Regions from separate parts of the Homo sapiens genome. Here all the other regions are linked to region 3. Evidence: promoter capture Hi-C in human tissues and cell types (Jung and others, 2019). All regions are on one chromosome and are shown on one strand. The core of a region is centred on a gene start or on the middle of the fragment in contact, and the rest is flanking DNA. Distances in the headings are between cores, read along the strand shown.

The links. The method cuts DNA at HindIII sites, captures the fragments that hold promoters and counts their contacts. A contact is called where the count stands out against the background at its distance.
Region 1: a contact is called between the fragment with the promoter of DAPK3 here and the fragment with the promoter of PLIN5 in region 3, in 1 of the 25 tissues and cell types used here (spleen).
Region 2: a contact is called between a fragment that was not itself captured here and the fragment with the promoter of PLIN5 in region 3, in 2 of the 25 tissues and cell types used here (bladder and spleen).

What each region holds. Positions count from the first base shown.
Region 1 is chr19:3,969,736-3,973,497 of GRCh38, forward strand. DAPK3 (death associated protein kinase 3) reads right to left here and starts at 1,364. Exons shown (of 9, transcript NM_001348.3): 1 at 1,186-1,364; 2 at 1-94. RefSeq lists enhancers at 1-415, 416-1,047 and silencers at 1-230, 1,219-1,348. The HindIII fragment of the contact is 13,824 bases long and covers 1-3,762 here.
Region 2 is chr19:3,996,536-4,000,505 of GRCh38, forward strand. No RefSeq gene overlaps it. Among named protein-coding and RNA genes, the nearest start is that of PIAS4, 9.2 kb to the right of the region's middle. RefSeq lists an enhancer at 2,304-2,949. The HindIII fragment of the contact is 5,265 bases long and covers 1-3,917 here.
Region 3 is chr19:4,533,974-4,537,810 of GRCh38, forward strand. It overlaps PLIN5 (perilipin 5), which reads right to left and starts at 1,251. Exons shown (of 8, transcript NM_001013706.3): 1 at 1,192-1,251; 2 at 42-122. The coding sequence starts at 101. LRG1 (leucine rich alpha-2-glycoprotein 1) reads right to left here. Exons shown (of 2, transcript NM_052972.3): 2 at 2,429-3,837. RefSeq lists an enhancer at 402-957. The HindIII fragment of the contact is 58,476 bases long and covers 1-3,837 here.

The sequences.
Region 1 (3,762 bases), core at 114-2,613, 560 kb before region 3:
GGCGGCCGGTCCGCCTTCCAGCAGCTTCCACTCCAGGGAAAGTGCAGTCACCGCAGCCTGGAGATAGGACCTCAGGAGTCCCCTAATGGCAACCCTGGAGAAGACAGGGAAAGACAGAAGTGAGGAACTGAGACACCACCCTTTTCTCCTAGATTAATGGACAGACCTGTCCAGCAAACACAAGCCTCCCACCTCTCCACTCTGAAGCTCCAAACTCGACAAAAAGAGGTGCTGTGTTTACTGGGCTGGGTCCTGTCATGTCACCTCTTAGAGCCCCATAACCACTCAAAAGTTTGGTAACAGCCCCACTGGGCCACCTTCACCCCGCAAAACTCTCTCCAGACACATAATTCTGATTTCCCCGACGCTGCCTGCGTCTTTTTTTGCCTCTCACTCCTAGACTTCTCTCAACCTGCTCAGCCAAAATCCCCCACCATTCCTGCACGTTCTCCTCAACCTCAAATCCCAGGGCTACCTTACTCCCTGGCCAATGTCTTAACGAAGTTCTCAAGTCTACTTCTTTTGTTGTTGGTGTTGTTGTTTTTTGAGAAGGAGTCTCGCTCTGTCGCCCTGGCTGGAGTGCAGTGGTGCAATCATGGCTCACTGCAGCCTGGAACTCCAAGGCTCAAGCGATCGTCCCAGGCCTCCCAAAGTGCTGCCATTCCGATCAAAATTCCCAAGTTACTACCTTAACCCCTCCTGGTCCTTGCCCTCGGCAGGTCTCTTAAGACCCTCATCGATGGAACACCCCCGCCCACCCCCAACCATCTCTGACTCCCTCCAATTCTGAATTTTCCAAGAACCGGACGACGCCTTCCACGCTCCTGAAAGCCCACTTTGCCTCCCTCCCCCGCTGACCTCCACTGTCCTCGCAAGATTAACCTCTTCCTCCACGCTCCATGTATCAAAGTCCCCCAACCGCCGTCTCCCCTACCCCCCAAAACGGGCCGCCAAAAAGGGCCCCATCTGAGTCTCCTCCACCGTCCTCTGCCCCTTCTCGCCCGCAATCTCCGCACAAGCCCCTAGGCAGACCCCAGTGGCTCCCTTTGCAGAACCTCCCCCCGCCCCCAAGGCCTTGCCCATCCCTAAGGCTCCGCTCCAGCATCCCTGGGGCCGCTACGCCCCTCGCACGCCCGGCCGAGCCCTTTCCCCGGCCCGGTCACCCAGATGGGTCCCCAAACCTACCAGCTCCTCAGATTCTCTCCCTCCCTCGTCCTCCGCGGGCCCCCGAAGCGCCGCTCTGGCCCCACCCAGCCCTCCAGCCTCGGCCCGAGCCCGCTCTTTACCCTCCGCAGCCCGGAGAATACGGCCGGCGCCGCCGCGCTGGCCACCGCCGCCGCCTCCAGAAGCCCCGCGCCCCTGCCGCCGCGACGCGCCTGCGCCGACGTCACCGCACCCGCCAGTGCCCACCCCCGGGAAACGAACCCCGCCGCCTATTGGCCGGTGCGCCCGCCGCTCGTGCCGCACCTCGACGTCCCGCCCCCAGCTGCCTTTTCGGCACCCACACCCGGATGCAGCCTCACCACTGGCTGAACACTCGCCATCCCTGATTTCATTGGCTGCAGTCGACGCTGGTCAAGCGGACGGAAAAAAGGCCGACTTCCGGTCCCTTCATCGCCCCGCCCGCCTCTCCTCTGACCCAGGTGCTGAAGCTGCGAGAAGTGAGGCTGAAGCCCTGCATCCCGCTTCCTGCCTTCCTGGAGCACCGGTTGGGCGAATGGATGGCTCACCTGTGGCCGAGCGCGCCTGGCAGCTCCTGGAGTGGACCCTGGGACTGCTTTAGTCCCTATGTGGCAGTTTCCTCCACTGAAAACTGTTACCCACATTCTAAATACTTAAAATGCAAATGAGGTCAATCTGGGGTTGTCATACACAGGGTCCCTCTTCGTCTCAAAATAGAGGGTAACAGCAAGCATTTTATTGAGACATAGTATGTGCCAACTGACAACACTGGGAGGTATCAGGTTTGTTTTTTTTTTAATTTTATTTTTTGAGACAGGGTCTCACTCTGTCACCCAGGCAGGAGTGCAGCGGCGGTATCCAGCTCACTGCAACCTCCACCTCCCGGGTTCAAACGATTCTCGTGCCTCAGCCTCCCAAGTAGCTGGGATTACAGGTGCCCATCACCACGCCCGGCTAATTTTTGTATTTTTAGTAGAGACGGGGTTTCACCATGTTGCCCAGGCTGGTCTCGAACTCCTAAGCTCAGGTGATCCGGCACCTCAGCTTTCCAAAGTGCTGAGATTACAGGCGTGAGCCATTGCGCCCGGCCTAAATTCATTTTTTATTATTATTTTGAGACGGAGTCTCGCTCTGTCACCCAGGCTGGAGTACACTGGCACAATCTCGGCTCACTGCAAGCTCCACCTCCCAGGTTCACGCCATTCTCCTGCCTCAGCCTCCCGAATAGCTGGGACTACAGGCGCCCGTCACCACGCCCAGCTAATTTTTTGTATTTATTAGTAGAGACAGGGTTTCACCGTGTTAGCCAGGATGGTCTCGATCTCCTGACCTCCTGATCCGCCCGCCTCGGCCTCCCAAAGTGCAGGAATTACAGGCATGAGCCACCTTGCCCAGCCTTTTTTTTTTTTTTTTTTTTTTTTTGAGACAGTCTCCTTCTATCGTCCAGGCTGGAACGCAGTGGTGAGATCTGGGCTCACTGCAATCTCTGCCTCCTGGGTTCAAGCGATTCTCCTGCCTCAGCCTCCCGAGTAGCTGGGACTACAGGTGCACGCCACCACTCCCAGCTGATTTTTGTATTTTTAGTAGACGCAGGGTTTCACCATGTTGGCCAGGATGGTCTCAATATCTGTGATCCGCCGGCCTCGGCCTCTCAAAGTGCTGCGATTACAGACGTGAGCCACAAGCCGGCCTTTATATTTTTTATTTACATTTTCAACGTACAATGGGTTGGCCAGGTGTGGTGGCTCACGCCCGTAATCCCAACAGCTTGGGCAGCCAAGGCGGGCAGGTCACTTGAAGTAGGAGTTCAAGACCAGCCTGCTCAACATGGTGAAACCCTGTCTCTACTAAAAATACAAAAGTTAGCCAGGCCTGGTGGCACATGCCTGTAATCCCAGCTACTCGGGAGGCTAGCGCAGGAGAATTGCTTGAACCCAGGAGGTGGAGGTTGCAGCGAGCCGAGATCATGCCACTATACTACAGCCTGGGTGACGGAGGGAGACTCCATCTCAAAGAAAAAAAAGTGGCAGGGCATGGTGGCTAACGCCTGTAATTCCAGCATTTTGGGAGGCCACGGTGGGCAGATCACGAAGTCAGGACATCAAGACCATCCTGGCTAACACGGTGAAACCCTGTCTCTACTAATAAATACAAAAAATTAGCCGGGCATGGTGGCGGGTGCCTGTAGTCCCGGCTACTCGGGAGGCTGAGGCAGGAGAATGGCGTGAACCCGGGAGGCGGAGCTTGCAGTGAGCCAAGATTGAGCCACTGCACTCCAGCCTGGGTGACAGAGCAAAGACTGTCTCAAAAAAAAAAAAAAATTCAGCTTCCACATACCATCTTAACGTTTGCACTACTAAAAAAGAATAGGACCCGGTATGGTGGCTCACACCTGTAACCCCAGCACTTTGGGAGGCTGAGGCGGGCTGATCTCTTACGGTCGAGCTTGAGACCAGCCTGGCCAACATGGTGAAACCCCATCTCACCTAAATATACAAAAATTACACAGACCTGGTGATAGGCGCCTGTAATTCCAGCTACTCGGGAGGCTGAAGCACAAGAATTGCTTGAGCACTTGAA
Region 2 (3,970 bases), core at 35-2,534, 540 kb before region 3:
GTCTCGCGTGTTGCCCAGGCTGGAGTGCAGCAGCATGATCTCAGCTCACTGCAACCTCTGCCTCTCGGGTTAAAGCGATTCTCCTGTCTCAGCCTCCTGAGTAGCTGGAATTACAGGTGTGTGCCACTATGCCCGGCTAATTTTTGTATTTTTAGTGGAGACAGGGGTTTCACCATGTTGCGTGGGCTGGTCTCAAACTTCTGACCTCAGGTGATCCTCCTGCCTCGGCCTCCCAAAATGCTGGGATTACAGGAGTGAGCCACTGTGCCTGGCCTACAATCTGTTTTAGAGCCAGAAAATGCAATCAATTGTGATAATACATTGCTATGTTTTGAAATACATATATACAAACGTGCACACAACTTTATTTAAATTTAAGATGCTTTTAATATTCAGCTAACACCAAATTCACAATTTGATACTTTTTTTTTTTGGTAAAGATGGAGTCTCCTTCTGTCACCGAGGCTGGAGTGCAGTGTCCTCATCTCGGCTCACTGCAACCTCTGTCTCCCAGGTTCAAGAGATTCTCCTGCCTCAGCATCCTGAGTAGCTGGGATTACAGGTGCGTGCCACCACGCCCCAGTAATTTTTTTTGTATTTCTAGTAGAGACAGGGTTTCACCATGTTGGCCAGGCTGGTCTCAAACTCCTGACCTCATGATCCACCCGCCTCGGCCTCCTAAAGTGCTGGGATTACAAGCTTGAGCTACCGCGCCCAGCTCATAGGTATTTTTGCCCAGGAAACAACTCCATTTACTTAAGTGCAAAACGGGAGTAACTATCTGTATCTATATCTACCTCTCTCCATCTATCTCTATGTATCTTACATAACAGTGGAGGTGGTTTGTGAATTTTGTCAGAATTGCAAAGGATCTGATTTAGAACTGATGAATTCTGTCCTAAAACAGGCTGTAAAGCTTTAAATTGGTCGTGTGGGGATTTTCCATAGCCTCCCTCTCCTCTTTCTTGTCTGTCTACCTCCCATCAGTGTCTGAACATGTTCTGTATTTAGCCTTTTTTTTTTTTTTTGAGATGGAGTCTCCCTCTGTTGCCCAGGCTGGAGTACAGTGGTGCCATCTCGGCTCACTGCAAGCTCCACCTTCCGGGTTCAAGTGACTCTCCTGCCTCAGCCTCCCAAGTAGCTGGGACTACAGGCGTGTGCCACCACGCCCAGCTAAATTTTTATTTTTGGTAGAGATGGGTTTTCACCATCTTGGCCAGGCTGGTCTCGAACTCTGGGCCTCAGGTGATCCGCCCATGTCAGCCTCCCAAAGTGCTGGGATTACAGGCGTGACCCACCACGCCGGGACCTTTAATTAGCTTTTGATTTTGTTTGTTGTTGATCTCCCTCCTGGAATGCCAGTTCCACGAGGACAGGGAATTTTGCCTGTTGTGGTCACCACTGTGTCTGAGCATCTCTAACAAAGACTAGCAAGCTACAGCCCTCAGCCCTAATCTTTTTTTTTTTTTTTTTTTGAGTCTCGCTCTGTAACCAGGCTGGAGTTCAGTGGCACAATCTCGGCTCACTGCAAGCTCCGCCTCCCGGGTTCACGCCGTTTTCCTGCCTCAGCCTCCCGAGTAGCTGGGACTACAGGCGCCCGCCACCATGCCCGGCTAATTTTTTGTATTTTTAGTAGAGACGGGGTTTCACCGTGTTAGCCAGGATGGTCTCGATCTCCTGATCTCGTGATCTGCCCGCCTCGGCCTCCCAAAGTGCTGGGATTACAGGCATGAGCCACTGCGCCCAGCGTATTATTATTATTATTATTATTATTATTACTTTTGAGACAGAGTCTCTCTCTGTCACCCAGGCTGGAGTGCAGTGACACAATCACGGTTCACTGCTGCCTGGAACTCCTGGGCTCAAGCCATCCACCTGAGTAGGTAAGACTGTAGGCGTGCACCACCATGCCTACTTAATTTTTTATTTTTTGCAGAGAGAGGATCTCATTATGTTGCTCAGTCTGGTGTAGAAATCCTGTGTTCAAGCAGTCCTCCTGCCTGGATCTCCAAAAGTTCTGGGATTACACACCCGACCCACAGCACCCGGCCTTCTTTCTCTTTTAAATGTTCAAACAAAAGCATAATAATAACATGACATGTGAAAATACGTAAGATTGAAATTTCTGTGTTTATGAAGTTCTACTAGCATACAGGCCTGGCTCAGTGGTTCACACCCGTAATCCCAGCATTTTGGGAGGTCCAGGAGGGCAGATCACTCGAGGTCAGGAGTTCAAGACCAGCCTGGCCGGGGGCAGCCCCCGCCCGGCCAGCTGCCCCGTCCGGAAGGGAGGTGGGGGGCAGCCCCCGCCCGGCCAGCCGCCCCGTCCGAGAGGTGGGGGGCGTCTCTGCCCGGCCGCCCCGTCTGGGAAGTGAGGAGCCCCTCTGCCCGGCCGCCACCCCGTCTGGGAGGTGTACCCAGCAGCTCATTGAGAGCAGACCATGATGACGATGGCGGTTTTGTCGAATAGAAAAAGGGGGAAATGTGGGGAAAAGAAAGAGAGGTCAGATTGTTACGCTGTCTGTGTGGAAAGAAGTGGACATAGGAGACTCCATTTTGTTCTGTACTGAGAAAAATTCTTCTGCCTTGGGATGCTGTTAATCTATAACCTTACCCCCAACCCCGTGCTGAAACATGTGCTGTGTCCACTCAGGGTTAAATGGATTAAGGGCGGTGCAAGATGTGCTTTGTTAAACAGATGCTAGAAGGCAGCATGCTCGTTAAGAGTCATCACCACTCCCTAATCTCAAGTACCCAGGGACATAAACACTGCGGAAGGCCGCAGGGTCCGCTGCCTAGGAAAACCAGAGACCCTTGTTCACATGTTTATCTGCTGACCTTCCCTCCACTAGTGTCCTATGACCCTGCCAAATCCCCCTCTCCGAGAAACACCCAAGAATGATCAATGAATACTAAAAAAAAAAAAAAAAAAAGACCAGCCTGGCCAACATGGTGAAACCCCGTCTCTGCTAAAAATACAAAAATTAGCTGGGCCTGGTGGCGTGCGCCTGTAGACTCAGCTACTCAGGAGGCTGAGGCAGGAAAATCTTTTTTACCTGGGAGGCGGAGGTTGCAGTGCACCGAGATCAGGCCCCTGCACTCCAGCTTGGGCAACAGAGCAAGACTTTGTCATAAATAAATAAATAAAATAAAATAAAGTTTTACTAGCACACAGCCATGCTCATTTGTTTTTCTTTTTTCTTTTCTTTTCTTTTTTGAGACGGAGCCTCGTTCTGTCGGCCAGGCTGGAGTGCAGTGGTGTGATCTCGGCTCACCACAACCTCCGCCTCCCGGTTCAGGCGATTCTCCTGCCTCAGCCTCCCAAGTAGCTGGGACTATAGGTGTGCACCACCACGCCCTGCTAATTTTCGTATTTTTAGTAGAGATGGGGTTTCACCATATTGGCCAGGCTGGTCTCAAACTCCTGACCTCATGGTCCGCCTGCCTCGGCCTCTCAAAGTGCTGGGATTACAGGCGTGAGCCACCGCTCCCGGCCAGCCATGCTGATTTGTTTATTTATAGTCTACGGTTTCTTTTGCCCTTAGATGGCAGAGTTGAGTAATTGCTCTAGACATTATATGTGGTCCAAAAGCAGAAAATAGTTATTTCCTGGATCTCTACAGAAAACGTTTGCAGATCCCTGAACCAAAACAGTGCCTTGTATACAGTAGGTGCTTGATAATACAGAAAGATTATTGTTTGCATGTCTTTTTAATTTTTTATTTTTGAGACAAGGTCTTGCTCTGTTGCCCTGGCTGGAGTGCAGTGCCACTATCACAACTCACTGCAGCCTCGACCTCCTGGGCTCAAGCAATCCTCCTGCCTTGGCCTCCCAAAGTGCTGAGATTATGAGCGTTAAGCTACTGTGCCTGGTCATTACTTGTATATCTGATGTAAGAAGGGGAGGTGTTTTAGCCTTTGGAGACAGCTGGATGCAGATTAAGACAGTGGTTTAGGCTGGGCATGGCAG
Region 3 (3,837 bases), core at 1-2,500:
AATACCTTCTGTCCCTGCTCCATGGGAGGGGCAGCCCTCACCTGCTGGTCCTGCTCCCACACACTGGATCTGGGGATCTGAGCCGCCTCTTCTTCAGACATCGTGCTGCAAACAGGGTCACCCTGCGGGGCAGGATTGAGTAAGGGGAGCACCTGCCCAGGCATCAGATCCTGTCAAATTGGGCTCTGTGACTTGAGCAACTCTCAAACCTCTTGGGGCCTCAGTTTCTTCATCTGCATAATGGGGCATTCTGTGGAGCTCAGACAATGCATGTCCAGAGCTCTGTACACAGAGGGTGTCCAATAATGAGCCTCTGGCAAGGTAGGGTTGCCGGAGTGACTCGAAGCATGGTCTCTGAGGTGAGAAAGACCTGGGTTCAAATGCTACCATTAATTGCGGTGTTATTTTTATTATTTTTTTAAAGACAGAATCTCTCTCGCCCAGGCTGGAGAGCAGTGGCGCCATCCCAGCTCACTGCAATTTCCGCCTCCCAGGTTCAAGTGATTCTCCTGCTTCAGCCTCCCAGTTAGCTGGGATTACCCACGTGCCACCATGCTCGGCTAATTTTTGTATTTTTAGTAGAAACCGGGTTTCGCCATGTTGCCCAGGCTGGTCTCAAACTCCTGGGCTCAAGTGATCTGCCCACCTCGGCCTCCCAAAGTGCTGGGATTACAGGCATGAGACACTGCACCTGGCCAGCTGTGTGATTTTTGGCAAGCACCTTCACCTCTCTGGGCTGCTTCCTGTTTTGTAAGATGTGGGAGGTCCCTGCTACCCCTGCGGCCCCTGCCTGGGCCCAGAACTGCCCAAGCACCCTAGACGGCTGGAGGTGGTAGCTGCTGGGTCCCAGTCCACTCACAGCTCATTTGACAGACAGGGCAACTGAGGTACGCAGCAGGTCCATGCTGGTCCCAAGGTCACGCAGCCAGCTAGAGTTACAGGGGGGGAGCTCGACCTCGGGCCTCAGACCTGCCGCCTGCGATCCCTCCGGTTGCCACCCCGCGTCCTCTGAGGCCTGGTCCTCGCCCAACTGGGTCCTGAGCTGGGGCCAACCGGGCCAAGGGTCCCAGCCACCTGCTCTGGCCGGTCATACCCGTCCCACGCCGCCGGACCTTCGCCCAACCACCCTATCTGGAGCTCCTCTCCTAAGCCCGGGGGGGCGCTCCCGGACGCCGCCCTCAGGGCACTCACCTGGGCGCGAGCGGCTTCAGACACCAGCTGTCTCCGCCGACCCCAGGCTCGAGTCTCCACACCCCCGCCGGTCCCGCCCGCCCTTCTTATAGCTGCTCGCGCAGTGGGGGCCTCCGGAACTGACCAATGGGGAGAGGCCGTGCGGGGGCGTGCCCAGGGGGCGTGGCTCCAGGCTTCCCTCGCCCTCTCCTTGAGCTGGCCCAGTGCCCTACGGTTGCCATAGTAATTCGGGAGCGCTAGATTCAAAAGATTGAGCTATTATACGTTCCCGGACCAAGTTTGGCCACCTGTCATCCTCACTGCTGTTGCCATAGAGACAGTCCATGCGATCACAGCCCCCATAGCCCTGCTGAGTGACCTTGGCCAACTCGCTGATGACTTTTCTTATTAATTATTATTATTTATCGATTTTTGAGACTGGGTCTTGCTCGGTTGCCCAGGGCTAGAGTGCAGTGGTGTGATCATAGCTCACTGCAGCCTTGCCCTCCCAGGCTGAGGTGATCCTCCCGCCTCAGTCTCCTAAGTAGCTGGGACCACAGGCACACACCACCACCCCCAGCTAACTTTTTAAACTTTTTGTAGAGACGAGATGTCCCTGTGTTGACCAGGCTTGTCTTCAACCCCTGAGCCCCAAGTGATCCTTCCACCTCAGCCTTCCAAATTGCTGGGATTACAGGTGTGAGCCATTGCACCCAGCCTCTTTTTATTTCTTAATCTGCCCCTTAACTAAGCCAGAAGCCAGGCCTTCCCTTTCCCTAGGATCCCCATTTCACAGATGAGCAAGCTGAGGCTCAGAGATCATAAAACACTTGCCCCGCATACCACAGCAAGTGAGGGATCCTATTCCTTTTTTTTCTTTTTTTTTTTTTGAGACAGAGTCTGACTCTGTCGCCCAGGCTGGAGTGCAGTGGCGCGATCTTGACACACTGCAACCTCCGCCCCCTGGGTTCAAGTGATTCTCCTGCCTCGGCCTCCGGAGTAGCTGGGATTACAGGCGCCTGCCACCACACCTAGCTAATTTTTGTATTTTTAGTAGAGACGGGGTGTCACCATATTCGTCAGGCTGGTCTTGGACTCCTGACCTCGTGATTTGCCTGCCTTGGCCTCCCAAAGTACTAGGATTACAGGCATGAGCCACCGTGCCCGGCCAGGGATCCTATTCAAACCCAGCCCTGCTGGACCTCAGAACCCTGCCTTTTCATTGCCTTGCCTGGAATGACCACAGATGTAGGCATGGTCTTTTTATTTTTATTTTTATTTTTGAGACACAGTTTCACTCTGTCGCCCAGCCTGGAGTGCAGTGGCGTGATCTTGGCTCACTGCAACCTCCGCCTCCCAGGTTCAAGTGATTCTCCTGCCTGACCCTCCCAAGTAGCTGGTATTACAGGCACGTGCCACTGTGCCTGGCTAATTTTTGTATTTTTAGTAGAGACAGGGTTTTGCCATGTTGGCCAGTCTGGTCTCGAACTCCTGACCTCCGGTGATCTGCCTGCCTCAGCCTCCCAAAGTGTTTGGATTACAGGCATGAGCCACGGCGCCAGGCTGCATGGTCATTTTTTAGGGAGCTGGGAAAACTGGACATGCCCCCAAGCCCCAGGGTCTTCCAAATCCGATTGCAGCCCCCACATGGCCAATGCTGTATCAGCAGGTGGGCCCGGGACCCTGCTCATCCCTTCAGCCCCATCCTGCCCCTGCAACCTTGCCCGGGGGCAGGTGCCCCCTTCGATGATCTCAGGTCAGCATGACAAATCGTTTGGAGACCTGGGCAATCTGGTTTAACTTAAACCTTCTCCTAGGACACAAGCCCTGGCAGAAATCCACTGGTAAAATGACACCCGGGCAACAGTCAAGGTTTTATTTCCAGTTAGGTCCCAGGATGGGGGAAGGGAGAGGAGAAGTCACAGGCCATTGATCCCAACTGTCATCCCCTAGGGAGACCATATCCCACACCCCAGGGCCTGGGCCATGCCTCTTTTCCTCCTTCACCCTGGAGTCCTGGGAAGTTGATTTGAGAAGATGCTAGGAACACAATGAAAGCCAATTCATCCGATCCAGTTTTCAAGGGTTATTTATTAAACCCCTTGGTTCTGACCCCAAGCTAAGTGGGACTCAGCATCAGACCCTGCACTCAGAGAGCCCCCTGACTTGGGGAAGACAGAGTCAGAGAAAGGCAGCCCCAGTGTGGCCAGGGCTCAGCTGGAAGGAAGGACAAGGGGCTGGGAGAACCCAGAGTTCAAGAGATCTGGGAAACAGGGAACGGCATTCCAGACGGAGGGCACACCTTGGGCATGGGTAAGGAAAGCCCATCGTGTGTTCTAGGAAGCATGGATGGATGAAACGGGGTCCCAGCCGCTATGGACAGCCCCGAGTTTCACCTGTAAAAGGCAGGATTATTTGTTTTTAATTTTAATTTTAATTTTTTTGAGACAGTCTTGCTCTGTCGCCCAGGCTAGAGTGCAGTGGCACGATCTTGGCTCACCGCAAGCTCCGCCTCCCAAGTTCACGCCATTCTCCTGCCTCAGCCTCCCGAGTTGCTGGGACTACAGGTGCCCACCACCACGCCTGGCTAATTTTTTATATTTTTAGTAGAGACAGGGTTTCACCATGTTAGCCAAGATGGTCTCGATCTCCTGACCTCGTGATCCG